3 separate regions of the Homo sapiens genome follow, and all the other regions are linked to region 1. The links are contacts of gene promoters, found by promoter capture Hi-C in blood cells and fetal thymus (Javierre and others, 2016). All regions are on one chromosome and are shown on one strand. The core of a region is centred on a gene start or on the middle of the fragment in contact, and the rest is flanking DNA. Distances in the headings are between cores, read along the strand shown.

Region 1 (3,886 bases), core at 440-2,939:
AAAGTACTATTCCTTTTACAAGTTTAACCAACTCAGGTATTAAACATCAATGATGATAATCCATAGCTCTGCTTAAAAGGAATCTCTCGGGAACAGCTGAGAAAGAAAGGTTAAAGATTTCTATCCTTCAAAGTAGGGCACTGCAGCTACCTATAAATCATGCTCTTTGTTTATTAAGATAATTAGGCCCATCAGTACACTTAACTTTTAGACTCAACAATTGTCTGGCATGAACAATTTCCACTTTTTCTAAAACAAAGGGGATGTGTTCAAAAAGCGGTCCTCTGCATGCTCTCTGCACAATGCATGCTATTTTAAAACATGATTTATGGGTCTAATTCCTGGAGCTGCCTTGAAAAATATAGTGGGTTGTTCCTCCCATGCTCCCTATTAGGAGAAGACACTCCAATTTGAAGAGTGCACTCTGTTTCAGACTTCAGGCCGCTATATCATGTCAGCATTTTCAGTAAATACTGTTCAATTGGACTTTAAACAAATGGAATGGAGGGCCACAGCTGCAGCCACTGCAGAGATAAAGTTATCCAGCCGGGAGGCTTACATAAGAGGTGCAGGACAATCAGGGTGAAATCCAAGTGTCATTATCTGAATCCTATTTCTTGAGACTTGCCTACATTCTTAAAGTGTATGAATTCACACGCCCAGAGCTCGTTTTATTTGCCTTAGGGCATAAAACACCGGGTCGACATATAAGTTGTTTTTTCCCTAAAGGACTAGGCTCCAATTATGAAAAGGTTGGCAACTTCTGCCTAGGGGAAGAGTAAAGCGGGATGCGCGGGAAGCCTGCAGGCCTGAAAGAAATGGCTCGCCCAAAGATCCATCGCAGTGCTGGCCACACTCCCCAGAGGAATTAGGATGGAGGTGACAAGACCCTGCCCAGCCCCTTCACCCCAACGTAAACACAGAGTCAAGGAGCTTGGAATGAATAATTAGCACGCAGCAGTCGAAATGCCCTAGGAGTACCTGTCCTCTCCCAGCATATTTCCAACTGGCACATTCGTGAGATGCTGAGGTCAGCCAGCCCTGGACTCCAGACCTTCCAGCTGCCTTGTCCCCTTCTTGGCACCCCGCACTCCCTCCTCGAGCTGGAACTCTGTTAACAAGAGGTGCCACCCTCGGCTTCCCACAAGAAGATAAAAACGAACCTCTCCTTCCCACGGCTCCCTCCAACTTCAGAAACTACAGTCAACTTACTGGGACTCAGGAGGCAGGGAGTCTTCCTGGCGGACGGCGCTCGGAGGCAGCCTCTGCAAACTCCGGCGCGCAGCGCCGCCGCCCCGGCACAGCCCGGCAGCAGCGGCAAGTGCAGGACCAGGCGCCGCCGCTCTGCACCAGTCGCCTTGGCTCAGCTGTGCCGGGCGCCGGGCATTCGCCAGGGCACACGACTCAGCGAGGCGGCGGCTGGGACTGAGGCTACTGCACCCGGCCGCGCGGACCCGAGCGCTGCAGCTGCCTCCAGCCCCGGAGCGCGGCGCTCCGAGCCCCTGGTGGGTGTCTCTGGCTCCAAGGGAATCACGGCTCAATTAGGGACCTGCCAGGAGAAAAACCGATGCGCTGCCGCAGGCAGAGCCGCCAGCCCGCCCCCAGTCGGCTGGTCACATCGCGGGCGCGCAGACGGACAAGCGAGCGGGAGGGTACCGCAGCCAGCACTCGCCGCCGCGCCGCGGAGAATGACAGGCGCCGAGGCGGAGCAGCCGCGCGGGGAGCGGGGCGCGAGTGCGCATGATCCTGGCCGCAGCGGCACGTCACGGGGGAGGAGGGGCGGGCCGCGGGGCGGGAGGGGGCGAGCCGGGCGGGGCCGGGCTGGGGGTGCACACGGGTGAGGACCGGCGCGGGGCCTGGCTTGCTCGCGGGAGGATGCAGGAAGTCTTCCCTGCCCTGATTTTATGAACCCAAAGCTCTGTGGTTGAACTTGTCCCAGGAGCCCATTGTCCTTTAAACAGCACCGTTTAAGCGGTCCTTAAGGTCCCTGGGGAGCCCACAAAAGCCAATTTAATTCAGGTTACAGCTTAACCGTAAAGGGTTGCCATTTGGGGGACAGTGATCTTCTATTGTGGCTGTGCATTAAAATAACTTGGGGAGCTTGTAAGAACCCTTTGCCCCGGACGCATCCCAGAACAAGTACAGGACAATGTCTGGGTGGGGCCCACCCAGGTATCAGTAGGTATCTAAAGATACCAAGGTACAGCAGTGCTTCTCAAACCCTCAGTGTGTGACAGAATCTCCTGCGGATTGTGATGAGATGCAAGATTCAGATTCAGTAGGCCTGGGATAATGAGGGAGACATCCTTTCTAACAAGCTCTCGGAGGATGCCAATACTGGAGGTCCAGACCCCCATCCTTGCTACTTAACGTGTGATCTAGAGCCTGGAGCAGAGCTTCTGAAACAGTTGGCCTGTCTGACAGTCACCCGAGGGGCTTATAAAAAACGCAGAACAAATGCCCAGGCCGTACCCCCAGTGATAGTGGTTCTGGCTCAGCCCCTGGCAAAGGTGGGCTTCTAGAATTCCATTTGGCATCAACACTCTAAATAAATCTGATAGGGGTTTTGTTTGGGCCAAACTTCAAGTTTACACTAGCAACCTGGAATTGGGAATAAACTTTTGCACTTACAAGGAGACAAACCAAGTCTAGAACTCAGGACATCTGACTTTGAGTCAGGGATTCTAAACCAACGGGTGCTTTATCTGACTAGTCCCAATTTTCTAAAATTATGATGCATTACTTAGCAAGAAAAAACATATAAATGGCATTAAATATACACACACACACTCTATTGAACACTCGTTACACATATCATTAATGGGAGCTTAAAGGTGGCTGGGGAAGAAGGCTCATCAGGAGAGGGTAAGGAAGACAGTGATGGAGTAAGGGATGTTGTTAGTGTGTCGCAGAGGGAAGGGTATGTGGGAGGAAACAGTTTAGACTCAGCCTACAGCTTGGAAAAGCCCATTGGGGAAGCGGACCCAGGAACCAGACTTGGCCTCTTGCTTCAGAGCATGGTATGAAACTCAGGTGTTTAAGAACTTATGGAGTATAACATTTCACATACGTTACCTCACTGAAATTTCACAGTGGTCTCTTAAGTTGAATAATAATATAAAAAAGTATCCCCATTTTATATATTAAAGAAGACATCCTGGACATGAGTTGACTAATGGTGGAACTTGAATAAAAGTAGGGATCTCCGTGTTGGACTTGGCTTCTACAACTCTGGAGAAGAGGACAATTTAGACCTTATAAAGCAAATGGTTTCTGTGTTTACTAGTCACATCTTTTACAGGCTGTGCCTAAATTTGGAGTTAGGAAGGCTTTCATTCTTGTGGGGAGGAAATACATTTTGTGTCTTCCAGTTTTGCTACACTTGTTAGGATACACTTAGAACAAAATGTTCTAAGAGCAACCCGGTCCTAGGACATTGCAGTTCCACAGTGCAGGCTTCATTGAGGAGTTTGAAGGGCAATATTCACGTTATCTGGTGACAAGTGTAATTACCATCCTCATTTTACCCAGGCTCAGAAGCTAAGTGATTTAGACAAATTCACGAATGCAGGCAGGAGCCAATCTCTAGCCTCTGTCCTTTTCCTCTGCTCTCTTTTCACCAAGTAACATGCTGAGGATTGTTTTTCATTTCCAAATTTTTCATATCAGGATTTGCCATCAGTAAATTGGAACTCAAATGTATTTCAAAGCCACTCCTAGATAGAGAACCAAAAGTGTCAGGATCAATTCTTGTGCTTGTGGTAGATGCTATGGGCTATACTCTCGGTCTGAGTAATGTTTTGGAAGCAAGTATGTGATAGTTATATACAGTCTTCTAATCCAGAGGTTTGACTGGGAATGCTACACTGCCAACTGTGGTCTACCT
Region 2 (3,886 bases), core at 542-3,041, 510 kb before region 1:
ATTTTAGAAGTTCCCAAACTTTCTCAGTTCATAGCTATAGTCATTCAGTTATTTATGCATGGGCCCTAGGCCAAAAGATTTATATATATATATAGATATAGATTTATATATACAGATATAGATTTATATATATAGATTTATATATATATATATAGATTTTTATATATATGCACACACACACACATATATATATACAAATATAGATATAAAACATTTTGGTTTATTAAAGTCCAAATAACTTAATGGTAGCATTTGTACAGTGCCTGGCAGATGTCACCTTGTTTCCCTCAAAAGCTTGAAACCTCCTGCAGTGCTCATCTTCTTCACTACAGTGACCCAGCGTACCTCAGCACATAGTTTGGGAACCACAGACATCTGATTTAATATTTGTGGGATTTGAGGAGCCCTATCTTTTAAGATCTAGCCTTTCATGAGCCCCTGTTTTATTGTAAAGAAATCTGAATATCTACTCATAACGTGTCAAAAGGTAGTAACTTTTTAAAAAATTGAGACGGGGATCTTGCTATATTGCTCAGGCTGCTCTCAAACTCCTGTGCTCAAGCAACGCTCTCACCTTGGCCTCCCAAAGTGGCGTGAGCCACCATGCCCAGCCAAAAGGTAGTAACTTGAGCTTCATGTGAAATTTGGAATTTTGTATTTCATTGAAAGAAGTAGTCACCAGTGTGGATGACAGGTAAGGGTCGCTAGACAGAAGAATGGAGCAGTAAGTCACTTAGTCTCTGATCATTTCCAGCCTCTGTTTTCTTCCAGAAGTCTGTGCTCTTGTGGGTTTCCTGTGGCCTCTCTAGCTAATCCTTCACGGTTTCTTTGATGGGCTAATCCTTGCTATGGAGCTTTTATTGTTGACATTCCTCAAGTCCTAGTCCTCAATTTCCATTATAGACTATGAGCAGATGGCCCCAAAATGTAGAATATTTTTCTTCTTACTGGTATTTCCCTTTTAAAATTTCCCCAGTCCTTCAATAAAAGAAAGTCAACCTTGATAACCAGGTGATTGGAGAGATGGAAGGGTAGGACAGTCAAGAGGTGCCTCCTTGGCTTTCTCTCCCTCAGGCCCCATAAAGAAAAGCTGGATCCCATGAAGGGAACACAGGTGCAGGGGGTGACATGGTGACCAGCAGTACAGTGAAGGGGCCACGGTGAGGCAGAACTTGATGGAGACGCATGACCTCCACAGAGAGCATCTCGGGAAGTGACTCCAGAGAGGGAAAGAGTCCATTTTCCCACAATGTGAGAGCAGGTGTTCTCCACCCTGGATGCTCAGGAGAATCAGCAGAGAATCACTGGGGAGATTTTTAAAGTGCCAGTCCCCTACCGTGAAACAATAAAACCAGATTTGGGGATGGGATCCTGGGCATCAGGAATCTAAAAATGCATAGCCAGGGTTGAGAACCACCTTGCTGGAGGAAGCTGACCTGAAGAATGAGTGGAGGTGAGGGTAGAGGAGCGTGAACTTGACTCTCTCCCTGCTCTCACCAAAGGTCCAGGAGATGGGAACCTGGACCTGCTGATGGACATCTTGCCACCATGTATAGCCCAGGAATAAACCTAGCATGGGAGGCTGTGGAGCTGAGCTAGGAAGAGAGTCAAATTTTGCTGACATCATTTGAGACATTCCTGAAGCTAATACTGTTTCTGGAAATGTCAGTTATGTATCCCACATCTTCTCTTTTTACTTAAAACCCAGTATGGCTTGGGTTTTCTGTCTTCGCACGGGAACAGCTGAGGACTGCTTGTGTGGTTATTACTGCCTACCTCCTTCTTTAACACCAAAACCTTGGAGGGGCGTTTGCATTTTAGGGATTATATGAAGGGCTTTTGTTTATTTATTTTTAATTGCTTTGAGACAGGATCTTACTCTGTTACCCAGGCTGGAGTGCAGTGGCATGATCGTAGCTCAGTGCAGCCTTAAACTCCTGGGCTCAGGAGATCCTCCTGCCTCAGCCTCCTGAGTAGCTGGTACTATAGGTGCATGCCAACATGCCTGGCTAATTTTTTTTTTTTTTTTGGTTTTGAGACAGAGTCTCCGAGTCTCACTCTGTCACCAGGCTGGAGTGCAGTGGTGTGATCTTGGCTCATGGCAACTTCCACCTCCTTGGTTCAAGTGATTCTCCTGCCTCAGCCTCCCGAGTAGCTGGGACTACAGGAGTGCGCCACCACGCCCAGCTAATTTTTGTATTTGTAGTAGAGACGGAGTTTCACTGTGTTGGCCAGGATGGTCTCGATCTCTTGACCTTGGGATCTGCCTGCCTCAGCCTCCCAAAGTGCTGGGATTACAGGTGTGAGCCATCACATTTGGCCACCTGGCTGATTTTTATTGTTTTTGTAGACAGGGTCTTGCTACGTTGCTCAGGCTGCTCTTGAACTCCTAGCTTCTAGTGATCCTCCCACCATGATCTCCCACAGTGCTGGGAATATATGCATGAACCACCACACCCAGCCCGACAGGCTTTATTTTTGCTTTGGTTGGCAGAGACTGCTTATTGTGTCCCAATATTTGCTCTCTCTTTTGTCCATGTAATAGCATTTTTAGCTGAGCTGCTTAGACAAATAGACTACAATTCTTAGTGTCCATTGCCTCTGTGCCAATAGGCACAACTTTGGCCAATAGGATGCAAGCAGAAGCACAGCAGTAGCATGTGGAACCCTCAAAAACCAGCAAGAATGGACGCTGTTCTCCAACCTTTCTCCGTTGTGCTATCTGGAACATGGATGTCTCCATCTTCAGCTTGAGGAAGAGGCCGTAGGAATGGTGGATGAGTTGGATGAGTAGGATGGTAGTGAGTTGGATGGGGAGCTTGAATCCTCAGAACTCCAGGGAACAGAGCCACCACATTGACTGTGGCCTGATACTTCCAGAGTTCATTTATGTGAATGAGAAATAAATTTCTATCTTAATAAGCCAGTGCTATTTTGGGTTTTCTGTCACTCAAAGTGGAATCTAATTCTAACTAATATCCCCTATTAAGTTTCGTCTTGATAGATTTGGACCGTCACTTTGTGTCTTTGGGTCCTGATGTCATCATTCAACATCTCCTTTACCCCATCCAGCTATCTGTCATCTGTTAATGAGATCAGCGTGCCCTCAGTACTTCCATCCAAGTCATTAATAAAAATAGGATCGGGAGAGGGCTGAGGACAGCGGCCTCCAGCCTGCTCCAGCGAGCTCTCTCGTTAGGGTACTGGTGAGCTATCCACCTTGCCTTGGACACTTCAGAGGTGGTGTGGAGGAACATTGAGGAGTTTCAGCCATAGATCCACAGCTGTCAAGCTTTAGCATACATCAGGAACACCAGAGGGCTTTTTTTCTTAAATTTAATTTTTAATTTGTTTTAGAGAGAAACTTTTACTCTGTTGCCCAGGCTGGAGTGCAGTGGTGTGATCATAGCTCACTGTAACCTCGAACTCCTGGGCTCAAGCAATGCTCTTGCCTCAGCCTCCTGAGTAGCTAGGACACGACTATAGGCATGCACCACCATGCCTGGCTAATTTCCTTTCTTTTGTGGAGATAGGGATCTTGCCATGTTGCCCAGGCTGGCATCAAGCAATTCTCCTACCTCAGCCTCCCAAAGTGCTGGGATTACAGGCGTGAGCCACCAAAGCCCAAGTATCAGTATTTCTAACAAGTCTCAGGTGATGCTGATACTGACAGGTTAGAGGCCCCACTTTGACAACTACCTTTTTTGGAAGGTGAACTGCAAGACAGAACAAATACTTCAAAGTAGTTTGGCTCTAGAAGGTAAGTCCTTCAGGAGACAAGAGGGATGAACTGCAGAATATCTGGTGGAGGATTGGACTATGATGGGACCAGGCTCTGCATTGGGGCTTATAGGAAGGAGGCCAGCAGAGTGGGGAATGGATGAAG
Region 3 (3,886 bases), core at 879-3,378, 430 kb before region 1:
ATGTCCACCATCTCATGGATAACAGCTGAAAATTCACACCAGTGGAAAGCACTTCTGCAGAACACCAACGTCAGCAAAGACCTCAAGTCTAACAGAATGGTCTTCTTCATGTAAAGCAAAGGGAACAGAGGGAGGCCACCATTGATTGGGAACCACTCTGTGCCTGGTCCTGTGCTAGCAGCTTCCACGTGTACTTTATTTAACACCCGCAACAGGCCCAGGAGGAGCTGAAGCTCCACGCAGTCGTGAGCAGACTCCTGGAATCTCACATATGCCTGATGTGAGATGCATAGCAGCTTCCAGACAAACTCTTTAGAATTTCTCAACATTGATGCTGTGGGCCACAATGGTTGGAGAGAACTTCCCAGAGATTTTCGCCTTTGCAGCAGCTTCTGAACTGTCTCTAGAACTTCCTTGGGTCTATTGGCTGAGACCTTTGGCCAAGGTGTCCCTGATTTTCTCTCTGCTTGCCCTACCAATAGTAAGCCTCAATCCTGTTTCTAAAAAATGGTTTCATACTTGGAATATACGAAGTAGCTTCTATTTTCTTGACAGAACCCAGAGTGATACTTAGGATTGATATAGTGACTGCTGAAGGTCACCTTCAGTTCCAAGAGTGGAAACATGGCTGGAATTTGAAGAATTATGTAACATTTTTGAAGTGCTTCAAAGTATTGTATAACATGCATATGACGTGTAAGTCCAACTAAAGCTATATTCTAGAAAGCACATGAACGTCACTTTATCAGTCAGCAGCCTGGAGTTAACGTCATGTTCTGAGGTGACTAAAAGGATCTTCAGGTATTTTTTTTTTTTTTGTATTGTGACTTGTGTGTGTGGTTTTGGAATGGCAGGGCAGGGACAGGGGCTTACACATCCAAGCCTCTCCAGAGAGGACCAGGGACCTTGACGGACAGAGAGGGCCAAGTTATTCTGTGCAGGTGAGTTGGCTGCATTATACAAACTTCCTCTGCCTGTCTCATGAAAACCCACACACCTTGGCAGCGGCTCCAATGGCTCTTTCAGGGTCAAGAGGTCCACACAGATCCCCAGCAGGTGCCAAAAGATCAGTAAATGCGCTCGTGTATTTAAAAATTAGTAACTTCCTAGAAGCTGGTAGGGGTTCCAGAAGCAGCTATGTTACCTCATGCTACCTCACGGTTACACAGTATACATGTTGCCTTACCTTTTGGGGGCTTTATTTATTTATTTGTAAGATGAGGGGACTGAATGAGAGTAGAGATTTTGGATCTTCAAGGTGTGTGGGGTTAATACAAAGTAACAGGTGAATTCAATGTATACCAAGCACGGATGAAACACCTCCCACCTCCATGTGCTGTTTATAGATGCTGTGGTGATACGTGTATACAAAATTAACAAAACAGTTCTGTAAATGGAATAACCCAGAATGTATTCTTTTGTGCCTGGCTTTTTTTCCCCCTCTGCATAATGTTTTTTTTGATTCACTCACTGTTTCTTGTATCAGTAGTTTGCTCCCTTTTATGTGGTGAAGTATCCCATTGTATGGTTATAATGCAATTTGTTTATCCAGGTACCTGTTGATGGGCATTTGGGTTGTTTCCAGTTTGGGGTGATAATGAATAAAGCTGCTATAAACATTTGTCTGCAAGTTTTTTTGTGGACATGTGTTTTCTTATCTCTTAGGTAAATACATACCTAAGAGTGGAATTGCTGGGTCATATGGTAAGTGTATATTTAACTTTCTAAGAAACTGCCAAACTGTTTTACAAAGTGGTTGTACCATTTTACATTTCTACCGGCAATAAATGAGAGTTCCTGTTGCCAACATTTGGTATTTTGTATACTAAAAATACACACTGTATAATTCCATTTACTTGAAATTCTACAACAGGCAGCATTAATCTATAGTGATGAAAGTTATACCAGTGGTTGGTTGCCTGTCTGGGGCTTGGTGGTGCCTTTGACTGAAGCGGCGTATGAGGAGTGCTGGCCTTGGTTAGAGTGGTGGTTACTCAGGTAGAGACAGTCAAAACTCACTAAATGGTATACTTAAAATGGGTTCATTTTATTCTGTGAAAATTATACCTAATAAAGTTGATTTTAAATGATTTCTATAACAGCAACACCAAACAACAAAACGATTTCTGAATTAACAGAAATCCCTAGTCATTCTGTGCTTCCTCAATCAATGAATTCTAAAAGTGCATCTCATCTTTGGGGACGTCTGGACATTTCTAGACATACTGAGTAGTCCTTTAACTTGGAAAGATTGAGACTGGGCTAGAAGATTTCCAAAGTCCTTCGAACTCCAATGTCCCAGAGCCTATATACTGCATGGCAGGTTATTCTAAGATCTTGTCACTAAGTTACCTAGATATCACTCCTCTTTATCCTGAATTTTCTCTATGAGGCCAATCAGCTCCCTGCCCTGGCTGACAATGCTGTATGTACCATCACCATGAAATCCATGCAGTTGATCCAAGCTGCTGTTCTTAGCATCGCCCTCCCCAGCAGTTTTAACAGATGGATCTATTTCTGGAACAGCCGTTCTTTTTGCAAGAGGCACTCTCTGCTCAAAATTAGTGGGTTAGGAATTAAGTCAGCAGAGAGACTGGCAACATGCTTATTCGTGAGGGTTTTACGGGTTTGTTTTCTTCTTGGAGCAGCCATTCACAATTTAAAGTGATTCATAGCTTTTTGGCTCTGGAAGATTAAAAATACAGAGTGGAGCAAATGATTAATTGTTTGCTACTGTACAACTATTACTGAAGCACCTTATGTTAACTCAGTGCTTTCTTCTCTAACTTGAGGTTCTTCCTAGTACACAGGTACAACTGTTCATGGTTAAGACACATACCTGTGAAATAAATGGAAATGATGAAGGCTGAAATTTAGAAATTGCCTCTGAGATGCTGCCAATGTTCTGAAATGCAGAGTCCTGAGTCAGATTTCCTTTTATGCCCCCAATTTCTGCTACTGTCCTTGCTGCACTCACCCAGTGCATTGCAGGGGGGCTAATGCACACCCAATTGAGCACAGGGTGGCTGAGGGATCTGGAGTTATCCTGAGCCACTGTGGCATTGGCACGGTCAGTGTGGGTCAGGGTGGAGGGTGGAGGCAAGCACCCCCTTCTCTCCACACCTATGCTTCTCAAATTCCCCATTCAGGCAGTTGCCAAACGGCGGTGGGGGAGGGGGGAGGAGGAAAGGCAAAGTATTAGCAGCTAACATTTATTGCTCTTTACAGGGCCTCTCGTATATTCCTGACAACAGCCACATCAATATGGTGCCACCATTTTCCTTATTTTACAGATGAGGAAACTGATGCTGAAGAGGCCAAGTGACTTGCTTAAGTCATGTAAGTCCTAAAGCTGGCATGACAATTTTGGAATGCACAGAATCCAGAATCTGACAGAATCAGGGATCTGGCATGGAAAGGGCACACAAATCATTTCTGATCAGCGCTTCTTGACTTTCTTGGGGTCTTGTGGAATTGATGGTTAACTCTTTGGCCTTCCATAGAATTCATTTTCTCCCACGAACTCCCCGAATGGCTGTATTTAGGGTCACTGCATCACCTTGTGGTCATGACGGAAATTGCACCTCCCCAAAGTCAAGAGTCCTGGCTCACACAACCTGGTTTTTCTCTGAGCTTGGAAGTTCTGCCAGTCTGTCTTGAAATCCCAGAGGAAAAATTCTGCTAGACCTGGGCTTGACAAAGTTGGCTGGCTGACCTCCAGAGCTAGGATAGAGAAGCCTTTCATTTCCCTTCTCACACTCTCACCTACCTTGGCTGCAGGTTCCTTATGGGTGACGGATACTTCATGTGGGAAGTAAGCTCTCCGGCAGACAGCCTGGAGTTCCTATCTCTGCTCTCCATTTCTTTCTGAACTTTCTGCACCCTT

Evidence for each region. Contacts are between HindIII fragments. The CHiCAGO score rates a contact against its expected background, and 5 or more counts as called.
Region 2: a fragment that was not itself captured here is called in contact with the fragment with the promoter of PAG1 in region 1 in 1 of 17 cell types (fetal thymus); the score reaches 5.2 in fetal thymus.
Region 3: a fragment that was not itself captured here is called in contact with the fragment with the promoter of PAG1 in region 1 in 1 of 17 cell types (M2 macrophages); the score reaches 6.5 in M2 macrophages.

The regions. Positions count from the first base shown.
Region 1 is chr8:81,110,379-81,114,264 of GRCh38, forward strand. It overlaps PAG1 (phosphoprotein membrane anchor with glycosphingolipid microdomains 1), which reads right to left and starts at 1,690. Exons shown (of 9, transcript NM_018440.4): 1 at 1,213-1,690. RefSeq lists an enhancer at 1,136-1,205 and a silencer at 1,696-1,825. The HindIII fragment of the contact is 5,316 bases long and covers 1-3,886 here.
Region 2 is chr8:80,604,970-80,608,855 of GRCh38, forward strand. No RefSeq gene overlaps it. Among named protein-coding and RNA genes, the nearest start is that of LINC02986, 67 kb to the left of the region's middle. The HindIII fragment of the contact is 2,998 bases long and covers 293-3,290 here.
Region 3 is chr8:80,679,560-80,683,445 of GRCh38, forward strand. The region is part of intron 4 of ZNF704 (zinc finger protein 704); the gene reads right to left. Among named protein-coding and RNA genes, the nearest start is that of LINC02986, 140 kb to the left of the region's middle. The HindIII fragment of the contact is 4,455 bases long and covers 1-3,886 here.